Linked DNA regions of Homo sapiens: regions 2 and 3 are each linked to region 1. The links are contacts of gene promoters, found by promoter capture Hi-C in blood cells and fetal thymus (Javierre and others, 2016). All regions are on one chromosome and are shown on one strand. The core of a region is centred on a gene start or on the middle of the fragment in contact, and the rest is flanking DNA. Distances in the headings are between cores, read along the strand shown.

Region 1 (4,320 bases), core at 1,195-3,694:
TGTAGTAACTGACAAATTGAAGGTGCAGGAGAGAGTATGATAAATTGCAGAGGGAAATATCCATCAAAATATCCTCTAGTTTAATTTGAGGGATATCAAAGGGTTCTCATATCCCAAAATTGACCGCAATCCTGTTTGTAACCTTCCAAATTAGTTATAACTCTATCTCTAGAGAACCCACATTAAAATGGAGTTACTGTTTTATCAAGATAATTAAGCCATCACTACCTATTAATATCAATAGGATACACTGTGCCCTGGCAAAAGGGAGGTTTTGAACTTGGAACAAGACATTTAACTAGGAGTAGAGTGGTGAGAAGAGAATGGCTGATGTGAGAAGCTGTATAAAAACATGGGACAGACAATAATGATCATGCTGGAAAAACAAACATGCTTCTGGCATGTCTTGGATATTTTACACACATGCTAATGAGTAATTGAGGGTCACTCCTCATGCCCTCGAACTAAGTTAATATGGCTCAGGGGAAAGAACATGGACTTTGGAAACAGAGGGGTCTTGCTTCGAATCCCAGTTGAGTTACCTAACACCTACATGACCACTGCCAAGTTACTTAAAACCTCACAGACAATTTCCTTACCTGTGGAAGTAGATAATGGTGTTACTGTGAGATATAAGTAGAATAACTTACAGCACTGCCCCAGCCCAGAAGAGATATTTTAATAAATAAGTCCATAACAGACGCAGATTAAAATAGTCAGCAAGGTAAAGAAACTGATGATACAGCCAGCTGACTTCAATAACATGCCTAAGAGAAATCACACCATCTCAGGCAGTATTTGGTAAGGCCAGAAGAATGTCCAACACTTAGTTCCAATTCTTAATTTTCAAATTGCCCCAGAGTCTATTTTTAAAGTGTAAAAGTATGTGCTGACATACTTACATGCCAATTGTTTAAAAGAAACAATTCTACAGGTTAACAAAGGCCAAAGACTCGGAATAACTTCCTAAATAATGTTTATGGGCCCACAAAGAGTTGAACCAACCTAAAATATCACAAGCTGTATCAATCAGTTTTATAAATGTATATACAGAGGGTTGACAACGTTCAATAAGATGATATTTTAAAAGTTTCTATTTCAGTTTCAAATTCATCTACAAACCAAAATGCAACATGGAAAATCTTAAAATGTCTTTAAGCCACATACTGAAATATACAGTAAATTTTCAGAGCCTAGGATCAGTAGTAAACCAAAAGCCCCAAACTGAAGAGTATTAAAATGAACAATGGCAGAGACTCGAAGCACACAATTTTGAATGCACCTAATCAGCCGTCCTCCTCTCCGACTAGAAATAACTTCCCTCCCATCTTAAATTAAGTAGCGTGTGTTCTGTCTCTGTCCTAGAAGATGTACTTAATGGTCATAAACTCTGTTTGCAACACTGAGACGGACTCATAATAAAAGTTCTAATCAACAATTAAATTTTGAACGTTTTAAGAAAACTTCCCGCTAAGCCACACGCCAAGCTACTTTGTCGGTGGCTGAGAGGGAGAAAGATGCATCCTTATCCTTTATGGAAAGAGAAAGGGAAGGAGTGGGAGAAAAGGGAACACAAGGAGACGAAAAATAACAAAGTATTGCTTGTATAAACAAATGAAAGCCTGGTTTCAAACTTTTGAAAATTCAACGTTCCCTTAGCGAATAGCAATACATATCAAAGTATATGGCAATCATCTGTGTTCTGAAGCAGAAAAAGGTGGAGAGAAAAGCAAAACACTTTTTATTGTACTGAACTCACAAGTATTCAAAATTCATCAATCCCCTCCCATCCCCAAACTCTGGACATTATATCATTTCCAAAATAAATCTGAAACAAAACCATTGGACTAATTTTGGACTCAGCGTAGAACTTTTATGAGTCTTCCAAGCACTCTCCACCCAACAGCCCTGCTGGGCAGTCCCGAATACCCGTTATTTTGGGGGCACGCACGGGCTCGTGCTCTGAGTTCCTGGAAGGAGGCCTCGGGGAGTGACGAGAAACCAGGGGGGTCTGCAGGACTTGGACCGCCGACCGTTCCTCGCTCCCCGGGGCGAGCGGTCTGGACCGCCCGGGAAGTGCCTGCGCCGGCGGTCGTGGGGCCAGTTCCCGCGTGGCAGCTGGGCGCGACACAGGCGCGCCCTCCTCGTCCCTCCCGGGCAGCGTCGGCCGCCCGAGCCCGGGGAGACCCGCCCCGCCCCGCGCCGTCACCCGGGCCCCGTTCCGCAGGGGTGGCTCGCGGCGCCCCACGTCCCTGCGAGAAGCCCGGGATCGCTTCGCGGGGCGCACCGACGAGCCGCCGCTCGCGAGCTCGCCGCCTACCTGGAGGGAGCTCAGGCCCGCGTCGACCGCGCGCTGCCGGTGTCCGCTGGGCGCTCAGCAGCCCCTGGAGCGCGGAGCCGGCGTGGAGAGCGCAGCTCACAGCCGAGACCAGAGCCGCCGGCCACACCCAGTCCCGCACCTCCCAGCAGCCAACTCCGCGGCGCGCCGGAGCCGGGGCGGGGACGTGGCTGGAGGCGCGAGGCGCGAGGCACGAGGCGCGCGGGCCCGGCGGGGACGTGCCGGGGACGCGCAGACCCTCGGAGCGCGCGCAGCCCGGGCGGGGGGCGAAGGGAGCGGGCGCCGCGCGCAGCTTCTGCTTCCTATTTTCTCTCTCGTTTCCTGCCAGAAGGAGAAGAAAAACATTCATTCCCGGGCAGTTTCGTTTTCTTGTTGGTGTGGCGCCGGGGCACGCTGCTAAGTAGCGCCCGTCTAAGTGGCGTGGCCAGTTTCCTTTCCGGCGCTGACAGGCGCCAGTTTGCTTGTTAGCAGGATCGAAGGGCAGAGCTAGAAGACCCCAAAGGCCCCATTTAGGTTTCCCATTCTGGAATTCTAAATGTCAGAAAGTAAACTGAAGCCCAGAGTTGCACAACCTTGCGTTGCAGTCCCCGCTCTTCCATCACTAGTTGTAGGACCGTGTACCGTCTCGGGCCTAAGTTTCGTCATCGCCAAAATAAAGATACTGATACCTGCCTCATAAAGGTGCTAAGCATATTAAATGAAGTGATGTTTGCACGAAGCCTGCCTCCAAATAAATGGCCAATACTTGGAAGTTATTGTTCCTATTGTCATTGATAAAACTGGAAGGCCTTCCAGATATCCCTGCCAAGTCGCTCTTCTCTGCATGAGTTAAACACCACATGCATCTCAATCGAGTTTTTTTTTTTTTCACATTTATCTGGGTGTTTTATGTTTAAAATGTCATAAAATAAATGCATCTATCCAATTTGCTTCCTCTGAAGTCAGTACCGCCTGGGAGCATTTTTCCTCTCCCCACCCCCATTTTTCTTCTGAGTTAATTCCAGTTTGACAGACTGTTGCTATAGCATTCCTTCTCTGACGTCAAACAATTTAAAGAAACAGCCCTGGGTAGCGAAAACTGCAGAGGAGTTCTTTGTGGAGTTTCTGTGCCGGAGAAATGTTCGAACAATATCATCAGATAACTTTAACAACCCCTCAGCCTTCCAATCCTCCTTCTGTAGCTGCTTCCCACTATCACCTGGAATAAATCTATTAGTCCCTTGAAAGAGGTGATGCCATGATAAACACACCCTGTTTGTGACTGTGGGGAAAATGTGACCGTTTTGTATAAAAGCCAGGCCGTGACAAAAATAGAAGCAGCTGTTTCTATTTTCTTTATCCACAGATAAAGAAACTGTGGATAATTTTTCCCCCAAAATTTTCATTTTTACTAATATTAGGAGCATTTTTCCATTAAGAAGAAAGAAATGCCAAATATTCTGCATATCAAAGTGTCAGAAGAGCTCGTTGGGACATGAGTGTTTTGCATCTGTAACTATTTATGTTTTAATGATTAAATCCTGAGTTTTATGATTGTCGTTTTTCGGAGGAAGCAAAGGGAAATTGTTAAAGAGTGCCTATTACGGACCATGCTCTCTGCTTTCTTATACTGTACTTAATCCTCATAATTACCTTGAAGTGTGAATTTTATCCCCATTTTACAGATAAGCAAACTGATGCCCTGGTAAGATTAATTTATCGGAGTCACGAAGGTATTGGTAGAGCCCTGCATGACATCAGATTGGATCAACTCCAAAGCCCACATTCTTTCTTTTTTTTGTTTGTTTTTTTGTTTTGAGACGGAGTCACTGTGCAGTGATGTGATGTCAGCTCACTGCAACCTCCACCTCCAGGATTCAAGCGATTCTCGTGTCTCAGCCTCCCAAGTCTGGGATTACAGGCACAAGCCACCACGCCCGGCTGATTTTTTGTATTTTTAGTAGACACGGGGTTTCACCGTGTTGACCAGGCTGGTCTCAATC
Region 2 (4,320 bases), core at 1,356-3,855, 1.5 Mb after region 1:
TTCAAGTTGGTCATGTATATTTCCCTTTTACAGAGAAAGCTGAAGCCTCGAGGCTCAGATTTACCTGGCTTCTGTTTACCTGGCTTCTGCAGAAGTTTAACTTGTAACCTACCTCTCATTCCCAAAGTGTGTTTAATCATGCCGCCTTCTTTAAAATATATCTGGAAGCACCAATGAGTAAAGACAAAGGCCCCAAGCTAGATCTGTAGAGATAAGTACTAGACTCACATCTCAGTACTATCAAGGAAAACATGCTTAGGTTATCAGAATTGTGAAGGCCATAGTACAAAAAGTTAAGAGAACGGAACTCAGGATCTGAGAAAGATCAGCCATTCTCAGCATGTTGCCTTGGCTGCTTAACCTTACTAAACTTCCATTTCCTCACATGTAAAATGTACATCATAATAACTAGTCTACTGAGATAAGGGAAGAATACTTAGCACAGTGCTAGTACACTGTAAGTACTCAAATGTTACAGATCCAAGTATTTTGTAAGAAAATACCAGCAAAAGATAAAAGTTTTTTTATGGATCGTATTTGTATCAATCACCTACATGATCTAGAGCCCTCACATGGATAACATTTAAATGTTCAGTTTGCCTAATAGCCTTCAATGAAACACGGATTCTTCTACTTAAAAAAGGTAAGCCTGGAGAAAATAAAACTGATTACTATGCAAGAAAAAAATGTGCTCTGCTGTGCTCCTTGGTATTTTTAAGTGGTTTCCATTGTCTTAACACCTGTCTTAAAACGGGTATGTTGTTTGCACTGAACCCTCAAAAGTATTTATACCTATTAAGTTAAATTTCCCTTTTTAGAGTTAATGCTTCATTGCCTGTCGGCATATTATCACTATCTGTCTTTGAAAAATTTTCTTTTAAGTCTCAACTATTTCTTCATAAAGCTCTTGTTCAGAGAAACATTTTTTGATTTGTCCAATGGACTGAAATAAAAGGTTAGTAAACCAAAATACAGTTGATCCTCATTATTAGTAGAATTCCTTATCTGTGAATTTGCCTACTCACTAAAATTTGTAACTCCAAAATCAACATCCTTTTCTGGTCATTTGTGAGTATTTGCAGAGTGACAAAAAATTTAAACCACTTTATGTGCACAAGGCAATGCTCTACCTTGTTTAAGCTCTCACACCATAAACAGATATCCTTTTTGTGGTCTATTTAGTGCCAAGTTTCATGTTTGTGCTTTTTGTTGGTGATTTTGCTGTTTTAAGATGGTTCCTAAGAGTAGTAGTGAAGCATGCTACCTAGTGTTCCCAAATGCAAAGAAGGCCGTGATGTCCCAAGCATGAGTTAGTTATAGTGCTGTTGGCTGTTAATTGAAAGTTAATGAAATACTAAAGAATGTTTTCAAGCAGAAACAGGTCGATCAAGGTTATATACTGACTGGCAGACAATATTGTGACCAAAGGGTCACAGAATCTGTATTTCTCTTAGGAACTTGTTCCTTATTTGCTAATTCAGTGTTCATAGCCACCTTAAAGAACAGAATTACCACAAACAAGAACCAGCTGTACTTTCATGTCTCCTTGTCCCTGGAAATAATTTATCCTGCATAAAAGCCTTAGAAGCTAGTGTTTCATCATACACTAAATCATAACAGACTCCATCAGATTTTAAACGAGGGTATTGGATAGAAAACACAAAGAGCAGATATACCTTTACTTTATAAGGCAGATAAATATTACCTCCACTATTTTTTTAACCTCAAAAGTCCTTGTATCCTCCAATAATTAAGAAACTTATGATGACTTAAGGAAGTTTAGACGGTAGGTAGTATAATTTATCATCTTAGAGCTACACATAAGAAATACTCCTGTTGAGAAATACATACTAGTTTATACCAGATGTTTTATACAGGTCCTCTTAAGATCCTTATATATTTTATGTTAGACAAACAGTAAGTAATTTGCCTTTAAACATCATTTAAATTTATTAGTGTATAAATTCTAAAGAGTCCAAATTAAATATGTTGATATTGAGAACATTTCAGTTTTCAGTTTTGCTAACAGGGTTTAAGCTTAATCATAACAATTGCAGAAGTTTGATTATGTCAAGAAATAGCCAACTGAAGGAATAATTTATAAATGGTCATTACCTTTAAGGGGCTAGCTGAATACAATGTAAATACTCATGCCTGTAATCCCAGTACTTTGGGAGGCTGAGGCGGGAGGACTGCTTAAACCCAGGAGGTTGAGGCTGCAATGAACTGTGATTGTACCAGACCTGTACTCTGAAATCTTTATCATACTATTTTTAATGCATGAAATAAAAATGGTTTATATGTACATAGAATACACACACACACACACCCCTAGGTCAATTTCTTAGGTCTCAGTTGTGGTTAAATTCACTTTTAAATACAAGGTTCCAAGTATCCAAGTTGCCAGGCCAGTTGCCTGTACCTGGAACAGCCTTTCCACCGAATAAGAAGAGTCCCTACTTAAACAGCTTAAGCTAATTTCCATCATACTATTTATCACAGTCTAATTACCAGTTTATCAGTCTCCCATTAAAGTGGGGGCTCCCTGAGAGCAAGGACTGTCATCTTCACTTTGCCTTGAAAAGTAGACATAGGTCCCAAATTATCTGCTAAATGAGTAATGAACAATATTTCTATTCAGAAGGTGTGTGCTTGCCCATAATTAATACGCAAATATTCTAAACTATAATCTGATTTAAAATCCCCAAATTTAAACAAGAAAATTATACCAAGGCTTTGAGATTTAGCTTGTGCTAAATCATTTTTTAAAATTGTAGCTCTGAGGCATTTTATTATAAAAACTTAGTACTCATATACATAAACTAATACGAACTTAAAATTCATCATACATTTACTTCATTTTTTAGCTTGACCTTCTAGTAAATCTTTAGCTTCATTGATTTTGGCTGCTATATAAGGAGATCCTCCTATAGGAAGAAAGAAAAAAGAACAGTTACAATATGGATTCTCAATTTCTGCTTGGTAAAAAGCTACTCTTGTTTCAAGGACTCCAATGCTTATCTGAGGGAGATTTAGCAGAAACAGTGTTTTAATTTTTAAAAAATAACCCTGACACTGCAACTGGATGACCAAATATATGGTAATATATGTGACCAATGAGAAATGAAGTAATTTACGTGGGAGATATTTCTACAAAAATAACACCTTTTTAGAAAGCTTAAACTGATAGAAATAGGATTTCTATCATATATATTAGATATATATGTATATGCCTTTGAACTGGTGTTAGCCTATTCATGATTACAGGTCATAAATGAACATCAATTATACCATGTTATTTTAATACCATGATATTCTCAGAGGCTTCTGAGCTGTTTACTGGAAAGATCCCAGTTTGCTTTACATCCTTTTTCTGTCCAGTTTTTCTTTTCCTGTTATCTACTGTCCCTTCACAATGTCATCTACAGCTGCTTTCCTACGAATCTGCTGGAGGAGTGATTCTCAAAGTATGGTCCTAAGACCAGCAAGAAATAACAGGAAATTTAGTATAAATGCATATTTATGGGGCTCCACTGCCGACCTACTGAGTCAGAAGCCCTCCATATAAAACAAGCTAAATTTCATAAAAGATACTGTGAAGTAGATATCAAACAATTATAACCCTGTTTAAAATGTCAAAACCCTTTTTATTAATGAAAGCCCTCTCCTGTATAAGTAAAAGGATACAAACACTAGAACATGAATTCTGTGGTCTATTTTTTGGTATTCAAAGAAATTCTTGCTTTCCTTCAACACAGCCAAGGCTGCATAGAAGTCTATCACAAACGAATAAATAAATCCCATAAGTTTCTATCTAGGTAATCTCCGTTTCAAGGTATCTAAAATGGATAAGGAAAAATTACATTTTAGTTTTACGAAATTTAACGTTTTAATTATAATAAATGTAGGCCAGAAAAACCCACAAAACATAGTAATAGTAGCACTTACATCTGCTCATTCTGTAAGTAAAGTTTTCACTTAATTTCTTTTAAGACACCAAAAATATATGGCTCCAGCCTAGGAGACAGGACTTACAGATTTAAGTGTTACCTTTCTAATAGCCAGGAATTTGAGATAAAATTATCCCATTAATAACTATTGGTCACACCAACAACATCAACGAGAATTTAATGACTACTTACCTTTGTCAGGATGATTTAAAAGCATAATTCGTCGATGAGCATCTCTTATTTTCCCTTTATTGGCAGTAGGGCTAATTAAAAAAAGAAATGGTATTTACTTCATCCTACTTCTGCATCACATCAAAAAACTGTACATAAAGGCCAATTAAAGACACTGTGAAACTGTAGTAAATTAACA
Region 3 (4,320 bases), core at 1,124-3,623, 1.5 Mb after region 1:
AAAGAAGAAAAATTCACAGTGTGCCATCTTATTTCTCTTTTCTGCCACTTTTTAAAAATCTTCTTATTCAGAAGTTCAGCAAAGTAAACCAAGTCTGGCCTAATACTTTGATTTACTTGAATACCTCTACGTATCTTAATAATTCCTTTAATTTTACATTGTGTAAATATTTATGCTCTGGAGGTGATATTTCTTTTAGTGGTCAGGAAGTACCTCTTGTAGTACACAGACACTCAAGATTTTGTTACCTGAGCACATACTGTAGGGATAACTGGGTTAATGTGCTTTATTATGCTTTAAAGCTATACCTACTAAGGTGATGTATCTATCTAGTCTGTAAGTTTATAGACAGTTTGAAGGAAAATCGTTGTTTTTTGTTTCTGGAGACAGATTCTTGCTCTCTTGTCCAGGCTGGAGGGCAGTGGCACAGTCTTGGCTCACTGCAATCTCTGCCTCCCAGGCTCAAGCTATCTTCCTACCTCAGCCTCCCAAGTAGCTGGGACTACAGGCATGTGCTACCCTGCCAGCTAATTTTTGTATATTTTGTAGAGATGGGCTTTCTCCATGCTGCCCAGGCTGGTCTCGAACTCATGAACTCAAGTGATCCACCTGCCTCAGCCTCCCAAAGTGCTAGGATTACAGGTGTGAGTCACCATGACCTGCCAGAAAATCATTTTAACTTTAAAAGTTGATTTATATACTTGGAAAATTAAATTAATTATAAATCAGAAAACTTGATATAAACTGATTTTTTAAAATTATTTTTAAAGTGTTTAGCACACAGAAGACAATTTACAACAGTAAATTGGGGTGCAAATATGACAAGTTATTGAAAATCTGAGTATTTCAACTTACATGGATTTTAGCATTTTTTTCTCCTTAAATCTTGAAGTTTAGTACATGTAAATTGCTGCGTGTTTCAGAAGAGTTTTCCTAATTATATATTGGGGCTGGGTACAGTGGCTCACGCCTGTAACCTCTTTACGAAGTCAATAATCCCAGCGCTTTGGGAAGCCAAGGCAGGAGGATTGCTTGAGGCAAGGAGTTGGGCAACAGAGCAAGACCCTGTCTCTACAAAAAATAAAAAGTAATAGCTGGTTGTGGTGACACGCATCTATAGTCCCAGCTACTCTGGAGGCTGAGACAGGAGAATCACTTGAGCCCAGGAGTTTGATGCTGCAGTGAGCTGTGATTGTAACACTGCACTGTAGCCTGGGCAACAGAGCAAGACGTCATCTCAAAAAAAAAAAAAAAAAAAAAAAAAAAAGGTGTGTGTGTGTGTGCCTGCCTGTCAGTTTCATGTCACTTTTAGGCTAGAACTTTGTTAAAATATTAAACACTGAATACTTTTTTTTTTTTTTAAACAGGGTATGGTTCCATTTGTATTTGTTGGCACTAAAGAAAGCATTGGAAATGTGCAGGTTCTTCTAGAGTATCATATTGCCTATCTAAAGGTTTGTATACGGTTCATACTATATTCTGATATTGTTGCTGCATTTACTACATAAATGTTGTACATTTGCTACAAATTTAAAATGTCCTCACATTAAACATTTTATATTTGAAGTAAACTTCAAATCTTTAAATATTTTTTGTTAATTCAGCTTCAGATTTGCCATTGTTCTACATGAGAATTTAAAAAGTCCTTTGTCATCATAAAATGATTGGCCTTGTGTGCATAATTTCTCTTCTTTCTGAGCTTTTATATTTCTTTCTTTCTTAAGAAATGATTCCTTTGTCTTCATGCAATTTGACTCTCAGATCACTTATGTATCTGCATGTTCATACTGGAGCCATTTTGTTTTTACTTTTGTACTTTACATACAAATAGGGTACAGAACCAGGAGTGACATTGGGCTTCCTTGGTAACTTTGGCATTATGCAAATCATCTGCATCATCTCCACTGACATTACTCGATAATTTGTAACCATTGTTAACAAAATAGTCTATTTGAGTTGATACATAAAGAGCAAGGGTTTTTAGAAAAATATGACCCATAAATTATTAAACATTTTAATTTTATTTTCTACTCTTTCCCTTTTATTCCTGCTGTGTTTCTTTTTAAAGTATAATAATATCCTCACCTGTTCTCTGCCTCTAGTATGTTTTCCTCCCAGTCTGTCGTATCATTGTTGCTGTTACTATTTTGAGATCACTCTGATAATGTCATTTCTTTTCTTTTGAAATTCATCTTTATATGAAAAGTCGCAATTAAAGCTGGCATTTTGAAGCCAGTGCTTTATCTTTCAGTACTCATCTTTTAACCAAGAGCTTTCTCTAGACATCTAACCTTTGCATCCTGTAATGACCTCAATTTCTGAATGACAAAGTCTAGCACTCCTTCTAGGTCACAACTCGTGTCACTGCTTTGATAGGAAAGTAGCTTGTTAATAGTACCTTTCATAGATGCTACCTGTATCTCATTCAGCAATTCTAACTCCTTGAGGGCAAAATCTGGTAATATTGTATAATTGTTAGCTATTTAATAAATAACTTATTTTAAAGCTGTCTGTTAAACATCCCCTTGATTGGGGAGAGTCCATGTCTTCTTTTATATTGTATGCCTATAGTAGCATGTTTGGCACACTCTAGACCATTCAGTAAATGTTGAACAGAAACAGCAAATGACCTCATCAATTCTGTTGACTAGGAACACAATGCTCTTTACCATCTAATTGCCTAAGGTCACAGCTTTGATAGGGAGTACAGCTTTAGCTTTAGGCTTTAGGAAAACAAAAAGTTATATATAAGAAGACTTACTCTTTTTTGTTTTGATTGTAGGAAGTAGAACAGCTAAGAATGGAACGCCTACAGATTGATGAACAGCTGCGACAGATTGGTATGGGTTTCAGACCTTCTTCCACCAGAGGGCCTGAAAAAGAGAAAGGATATGCCACTGATGAAAGTACCGTCTCTTCTGTACAAGGTTCTAGGTCTTATAGCGGAAGAGGCAGAGGTCGTCGGGGACCTAATTACACCTCCGGTTATGGTAAAAAAAAATTTTTTTTTTTTTTTTTTGGTAATAGTAATAATAGTAGTTATAGTTTAGGTGCTCTAACACATTTTCTTATAATTAGTTCATTACTCTGTCTTGGCTTTGAGGGTAGAAGGTAGTTCTGAAGGTTTAGTACACGTCTTAATAGTAGTGATAGTATACATTAAAATGACAGTAAAATATATAAAATTTCCAAGCAGTTATGTAATGAAGCAAAGCATGTTTTTAAGTTGGTAGTTCATTGTCATGTTTATTATATTTACAAAGAATACATATGTAACTTGTTTTTCAAATACTTTACTAGTACAGTTTTATACATTTCCCAGTAAATACCTAGTAATGGTGGTGGTGATACTTCTAGGAATCATCTTTTGTCTACCCTCTTTAAGTAAAAAATGAAAAGTGTGCGAATCACTGCCAAGATTGCATATAGCAAGTCTTTTTACTAGCTTTTAAAAAATATTTTACTTACTCATTTGGCGTATTTGAATATATTAACATCTCACATCTGGAATTATTTTATTTAACAACATTTCACTAAAATGAAGACTCTGAAAGCCAGAATCTAATTTAACACTTTATAAATGAACATTTTCTAAAATGTATTTCACTGTGAGGATTGGGTCTAACCCAGATAGGAAGGGGGACAGTGGAGTGGTGATAGTCAACAATTCTCTAATCCTAAATTCTCCCTTATTCTTCTTCAGCTTTGGAGTTGTTCCATTTTTCTACATTTGGACTTGGATCTTAGCAGTGACCTGATTTGTTTTTTTCCTTCGCCCCTTCTCTTTATTTTCTCTTTTCCTTTTCTTTTCTTCACTCCTATACTTACTCCCTTTTGAGGAAATATAAAACCTTTTCCAAAATGTAAGGCATTTAAGGAAAATAGAAATAAATGCAAATTTCATGCTTTAATTGAAGGATCATCTAATGCTGACAAAGTTATATTAAACCTGAACTATCTTCAATTTGTTGTAGAGTTGTAAGTTTGTGTCCCTGCCCTTTAATATCATATCTTTATGTTCTCATTTTCTTATATATGTTTTTATTTAATGCAGTATTGAAACCTAAACAGCAAAATTCTAATAAAGAAGTGTTCAGCATATAAAGGGATGAAAATTGCAGACTATTATTATATTTCTGAAAATGTTTAATGCAAAAGACAGTTAACCAGTAATCACATAGAAATCAAATATATTCTCATTGATTTTTGAACCATACATTATTAGCATAGATAATCAGACTTGGCTTATTGGATGATGCGTATGATGAATTCATTGAATAATTTTATTAGCTTTTGTGGGAAGTCGGCTTATTGATGAGA

The links. The method cuts DNA at HindIII sites, captures the fragments that hold promoters and counts their contacts. A CHiCAGO score of 5 or more calls a contact.
Region 2: a contact is called between a fragment that was not itself captured here and the fragment with the promoter of GNB4 in region 1, in 1 of 17 cell types (M2 macrophages). The highest score is 6.8, in M2 macrophages.
Region 3: a fragment that was not itself captured here is called in contact with the fragment with the promoter of GNB4 in region 1 in 1 of 17 cell types (monocytes); the score reaches 5.1 in monocytes.

What each region holds. Positions count from the first base shown.
Region 1 is chr3:179,449,026-179,453,345 of GRCh38, forward strand. It overlaps GNB4 (G protein subunit beta 4), which reads right to left and starts at 2,445. Exons shown (of 10, transcript NM_021629.4): 1 at 2,321-2,445. It also overlaps the pseudogene RPL29P34. RefSeq lists silencers at 2,016-2,425, 2,466-2,615. The HindIII fragment of the contact is 16,902 bases long and covers 1-4,320 here.
Region 2 is chr3:180,981,784-180,986,103 of GRCh38, forward strand. DNAJC19 (DnaJ heat shock protein family (Hsp40) member C19) reads right to left here. Exons shown (of 6, transcript NM_145261.4): 5 at 4,143-4,213; 6 at 1,926-2,927. The coding sequence ends at 2,857. It overlaps FXR1 (FMR1 autosomal homolog 1), which reads left to right. Exons shown (of 17, transcript NM_005087.4): 17 at 1-970. Among named protein-coding and RNA genes, the nearest start is that of DNAJC19, 5.8 kb to the right of the region's middle. The HindIII fragment of the contact is 1,140 bases long and covers 2,036-3,175 here.
Region 3 is chr3:180,960,101-180,964,420 of GRCh38, forward strand. It overlaps FXR1 (FMR1 autosomal homolog 1), which reads left to right. Exons shown (of 17, transcript NM_005087.4): 11 at 1,368-1,454; 12 at 2,783-2,840; 13 at 2,928-2,990. Among named protein-coding and RNA genes, the nearest start is that of DNAJC19, 27 kb to the right of the region's middle. The HindIII fragment of the contact is 4,850 bases long and covers 1-4,320 here.